Regions from separate parts of the Homo sapiens genome. Here region 1 is linked to region 2. The links are contacts of gene promoters, found by promoter capture Hi-C in human tissues and cell types (Jung and others, 2019). All regions are on one chromosome and are shown on one strand. Each heading gives the region's core, a stretch centred on a gene start or on the middle of the fragment in contact. The rest is flanking DNA. Distances are from core to core; before and after follow the strand shown.

Region 1 (2,881 bases), core at 215-2,714, 660 kb before region 2:
GCAGTTTCTTCCTTTAGATATGAGGGCATCCCCAGTTAAGTCAGTTGACATGTCCGCTTTTGTTAGTTCGATGAGTTTAACCCTCAGCGGATAGCTTTCTGTCAGCTGCCTCCAAGCAGTTCAGTGTGGCAGCCTTGAATGTGCTGGAGGCTGGAGTTGAGCAGCTCTCTGGGCCAGACGCCTCATCTGGGGAGTCCTTGGAGCTGGAAGTGGGAGGTTGTTGGGGGACAGGGTGGATTGTAAACTTTGCAGTTCAGCCCAGGACTCTGGTCCTGGTACTGACTGCTTGTTTCCTTGTTGAAATAAGATAAAGGAAATAAAGACCTAAACACAAAAGGGAGGAAATGAGTTATTACATAACTCTAGGGAACGAATTATGTTTTAAAATGAAACATCTGCACAAGACTCTTGGGTAAGGGGATAGTATTTTATTTTATTTATTTATTTTTGAGACAGAGTTTTGCTCTTGCTGCCCAGGCTGGAGTGCAATGGCGCGATCTCAGCTCACCGAAACCTCCACCTCCTGGATTCAAACGATTCTCCTGCCTCAGCCTCCTGAGTAGCTGGGACTACAGGCATGGGCCACTACGCCCGGCTAATTTTTTGTATTTTTAGTAGAGACAGGGTTTCACCATGTTGGCCAGGCTGGTCTCAAACTCCTGACCTCAAGTGATCCGCCCATCTCAGCCTCCCAAAGTGCTTGGGATTACAGGCGTGAGCCACCTCGCCCAGCAGGGGATAGTATTTTAGTGTCTTGTTTTTCTTTGTGTCTCTTAAACACCTAATTCAGAGTTGACCCTCAGTCATAGTTAGAATTAAGCTGTTTTCTCTCTATAAAAATGACCTAAACACACACCTAAACGAACACCCCCTAACCCAGAAGCTTTTTTTGTTTGTTTTTATAAGACGGAATCTTGCTCTGTCACCCAGGCTGGAGTGCAGTGGTGCGATCTTGGCTCATGGCAACCTCTGCCTCCCATAACCCAGAGGATTTTAAACCCATGGGTTAAAATCTGCTTTATAATAATCCAGGGCCCCACTTCATGGGCCTGAATCTTTTGGACTGGACATCTGTCCAGAATGGGCTGTAGCCCTGCCCTCCCCAGACAGAGCCAGGAGGGTGAAATATTCCTATAGCCCAGACAGACCCTCCCTGGTCATCACACCTATGCCAGGTTCCCGTAGGGGGTATAGAGGAGAGAATTTGGGGTCCAGGGAACGTTTGCCTTCTCACCTGCCAGCAGCGCTCTTGCCAGGACCTCGCGGAATACCTGGTGAAGCCCTGGAAGCAGTTGCAGAGCTGTAGTTTCGGTGCGATGGAGGTGGGGCATTACGAGACTCAGTCAAAACCTTCCTCCTTCGCCCTCCCAAACATTTACTGAGGATAAAAGTGCAGGATGTGTTTTGGGAACGTCAGTAGTCACTGCAGTGGGGAGTAAGGCTGCAGCCATAAGCTGGAGCCAGAGCCGAGGCCCCCCCAGGGGTTGGGCTTTGTAAAGGAGCCCCCAGCAGTTCTAGAAGCGGGAGGGTAACATAATTGAGTCTGTGTTTTAGAGACCTACCCCTGGCAGGAGTGTTGATTTGAAAAATTTCCGATGACTAATGCCTGCCTGAAACCAGTACTGCTGCCTGCTGGGATGAATAGCTGTCTTTTCATGCAGGAAGAGCAGCTGTGATTATAAAAAGCCTGAACACTGAAGCCCCCTCAAGCTGTTCACGAAAGAAGTTGAAAGCACTGGTGGAACCAGGGAACTGAGTGCATCAGATTGAGGGAAATAGCTTACTCCCTCCCACCGTGAGGAGCTCCTACTACATCCTCAACTACCGTTAACTCCCACCCCTAAATGTGCCTTTTAGGCTGTTCAAATAGATAAAAATGCCAGCACAAAGCATCTTGGTGGTCCTTCCTGCCAGGCAGGCATTGTGGTATGCGAGTTCTCAGTGCGTGCACCACCCGCTCGCCTCGCTGCTTGTGCTCACCCTTTGGTCGCTAGAGAGTGCTCCGTATCCCTGGGCATGACCGGAGTCCTAAGATTTCTTCAGCCTGCGGACTGTTTATCCTTCCTTTATATATATGTATAAATTTTTAAGGGTTTAACAACATATTGAAACTGAAATACCAGACAATAATGATAAGGAAGATTGTTTCTTTTTGTTTTGGTGGTGGTGGTTTTTTTTTGTTTTGTTTTGTTTTGATTTTTGAGACAGGGTCTTGTTCTGTCTCCCAGGCTGGAGTCCAGTGGTGTGATCTTGGCTCACTGCAGCCTGGACCTCCTGGGCTTAGTTGATCCTCCTGCCTTGGCCTTCTGAGTAGCTGGGACTACAGATGTGCATCATCACTTGCAGCTAATTTTTTTTTGGGGGGGGGGGTAAGGTTATAGATTAACAGCATCCCAAGGCAGAAGAATTTTTCTTAGTACAGAACAAAATGAAGTCTCCCACGTCTACTTCTTTCTACACAGACACAGTAACAATCTGATCTCTCTTTTCCCCACATTTCCCCCTTTTCTATTCGACAAAACCGCCATCGTCTTCATGGCCCGTTCTCAATGAGCTGTTGGGTACACCTCCCAGACGGGGTGGCGGCCGGGCAGAGGGGCTCCTCACTTCCCAGACGGGGTGGTGGCTGGGTGGAGGCGCCCCCCACCTCCCGAACAGGGCGGCTGGCTGTGCGGGGGCTGCCCCCCACCTCCCTCCCAGACGGGGCGGCTGCCGGGCGGAGACGCTCCTCACTTCCCAGACGGGGCGGCTGCTGGGCGGAGGGGCTCCTCACTTCCCAGACGGGGTGGCCGGGCAGAGAAGCTCCTCACCTCCCAGACGGGGTGGCGGTCGGGCAGAGACACTCCTCAGTTCCCAGATGGGGTCGCGGCCGGGCAGAGGC
Region 2 (2,700 bases), core at 140-2,639:
GAGGGCAGTGGCTCTATGGGGCCATTTACGTCCTGATCTTTCTGAGCAAGACACAGTTAGTTTAGTCTGCAGTAAGAAGGATTTAGGCTAGACAGTGTCTCTGCTCTCCCAGTTATTACAACAATGAACACACTGTTATCATTGTCTATCCCACCCCCATCAAACTAAGTTAATCAATAATGTCTGATTCAACTGACTTCCTAGGGTAGGGCATTGGGTCTGGGCATAGGAAATGATGAATGAATGACTGCTGAGAATGAATGGATGAATGTAATCCATCCATTCACTCAACAAATATTTATTAACTACGATGTACCAGGGACTTTTAGAGTGCTGGACATACAAAGTGACAAAGTCTCTAACCTCTTGTTTCTTACATTTTAGATGTAGAGACAGTGAACAAGTTATTATATAACTGTTGGCAGAACCAGTTTGCTATGGGCCCTGAGCGTCCCTGCATGTTCTTGCTGGGTATGTCAAGAAAGCAAGACCCTGACAGCTCTGTACTCAGGCTGTGTTTGCAGCAAGGAACCTTGAAAGATGAGGTAAAGTCTCCCATTGGACAAAGAACAGCATGCTTACCACTCACTGTAAAAGCAGTCAATTGGCAGGGCCTGCTGGTGTGCAGCGGTAGTCCCAGCTACTCAGGAGGCTGAAGCAGGAGGGCTGCTTGAGGCCAGGAGTTTACGACCCACCTGGGCAACATGGCCAGATCCCCATGGTGGCACTTGCCTGTAGTTCCAGCTACTCAGGAGGCTAAGCCAGGAAGATGACTTGAGCCCAGGAGTTTGAAGCTGTAGTGAGCTATGATCGTGTCACTATAGTCCAGCCTGGGCAACAAAGTGACGCTCCAAAAAAAAAAAAAAAAAAAGGGCCAGGCACGGTGGCTCACGTCTGTAATCTCAGCACTCACTTTGGGAGGCCGAGGCGGGATCACTTGAGGCCAGGAGTTTGAGACCGGCCTGGGCAACTTGGAGAAACCCCGTCTCTACTAAAAATAAAAAAATAAGTCGGGCGTGGTGACGCGCGCCCGTAGTCCCAGCTCCTTGGGAGGCTGAGGCAGGAGAATCGCTTAAACTCGGGAGGCAGAAGTTGCAGTGAGCCGAGATTGCGCGCATTGCACTCCAGCCTGGGCCACAAAGCGAGACTCTGTCTCAAAAAAAAAAAAAAAAAGTACTGTGTATGAGCATGAATGAATGAAAGTGAACAAAGGAATCACTAAAAACCTGCTTACTGTGGAGCGTGGAACCAAAGGCCTGTCCACCACGTGTTCCACGGGTAGCGCTGGAACGCCCCTCAGAAAAGGAGATAAAGGTTCGGTTCCTTTAAGAGGCCCCGTCCCGTCCCGCGAAGCCCCGCCTATAAGGAGGCACGTGCCCCCAGGCCGCGCTCTAGGGGCTGGACTCAGGGCGGTTTGAAAGATCGGCGCGCACCGCAGGAGCAACGGTTGGTCCTGCGGCTGTGATGTCGGTGTTGAGGCCCCTGGACAAGCTGCCCGGCCTGAACACGGCCACCATCTTGGTAGGTGCAGGCGGCCCTGCTTCCCCCGCCGGTTTTTCCTCCTGGGCGGTGCTTCAGCCACTAGGTCAACTGAGCTCTCTGAGGCGCCAAGCCAGCGCGCGCTACCGTGGCGGGGGCGGGGAATAGGCGGAGAGCCATGCTCTGAACCAATTGGAGTAGCCGCTCTCTGAGGTTGAGGGACGCACCCACCAATAGGTGCTCGGCGGACCCTTTCCCAGCTTCTGATTGGCGAGTTCCCGCGCCTGGAATTGGTTTTCCCGCGTCTGGGGGTCTGGCCTCCTGGAGAGGCCGGCGGTGGGAGCGAGGGTCGGGTAGTAGAGAGTGCGGTGCCCACAGGCCTGCAGCGGGTCCAAACCTCAGGCCCCCAGCCCGTGCCGCTTCGCGGGGTCCACTTCTCGGGAAATGTCCTCCGAGCCGCCTGCTGGCGGTGTCCCGATCCCCCCGGGAGTGGGTCGAAGGGCCAGGCCCTCCCCAGGGGGTGCTGTGCCTAGGGCTCGACTGTCCGCTCTCTCTCCCTGCGCAGCTGGTGGGCACGGAGGATGCTCTTCTGCAGCAGCTGGCGGACTCGATGCTCAAAGAGGACTGCGCCTCCGAGCTGAAGGTGTAAGTAGCCGCGGCTGTGGCCTGGGCCCACGTGTCTCTCACTCCAGAGGGATTCGGTCCTAGCTGCTAAACTCCGAAGCCCAGCGCCCCCTCCTCTGAGGCTGGTCCTTCTCCCAGCATGCAGCGTAGCTGGCTAGTCCCATGCCGTCTTATATCCCAACCTCCCCTTGCCGAGGTGGTGACTAAACAGAGCCCGTTTCTGGCAGAGGGAATCAGACAGGAGTAATCTGAATAGGACCGGACCTGTCCTGCCTCTGTGCTGGCCCAAGGAGTCGTGGCCACAAGAGCCTCGGGTGGCTAGGATGAGGTGGGGAGCCCTTGACGGCCTCTTTCCACATGAAGGGCAGCATTTAAACGGTCGCTATGAGGGGGGTACGGATATCTTGAGTCCTGCAATTTCCTGTTTTTCAGCCACTTGGCAAAGTCCCTCCCTTTGCCCTCCAGTGTGAATCGGCCCCGAATTGACCTGATCGTGTTTGTGGTTAATCTTCACAGCAAATACAGGTGAGAGCCAGAGGAAGGGGCAGTCAGGGCTCAGGCAGGCCTGGCTCAGGACTGTGCTGAGACGGTGACCTA

What was found. The method cuts DNA at HindIII sites, captures the fragments that hold promoters and counts their contacts. A contact is called where the count stands out against the background at its distance.
Region 1: a contact is called between a fragment that was not itself captured here and the fragment with the promoter of CENPM in region 2, in 1 of the 25 tissues and cell types used here (dorsolateral prefrontal cortex).

Annotation. Positions count from the first base shown.
Region 1 is chr22:42,607,743-42,610,623 of GRCh38, reverse strand. The region is part of intron 1 of POLDIP3 (DNA polymerase delta interacting protein 3); the gene reads left to right. It overlaps LOC124905127 (a long non-coding RNA gene), which reads left to right. Exons shown (of 2, transcript XR_007068118.1): 2 at 1,662-1,889. Among named protein-coding and RNA genes, the nearest start is that of POLDIP3, 5.7 kb to the left of the region's middle. The HindIII fragment of the contact is 5,591 bases long and covers 1-2,881 here.
Region 2 is chr22:41,945,841-41,948,540 of GRCh38, reverse strand. It overlaps CENPM (centromere protein M), which reads left to right and starts at 1,389. Exons shown (of 6, transcript NM_024053.5): 1 at 1,389-1,521; 2 at 2,045-2,124; 3 at 2,536-2,628. The coding sequence starts at 1,465. It also overlaps a transcript of SMIM45 not described here. RefSeq lists an enhancer at 1,376-1,585. The HindIII fragment of the contact is 14,723 bases long and covers 1-2,700 here.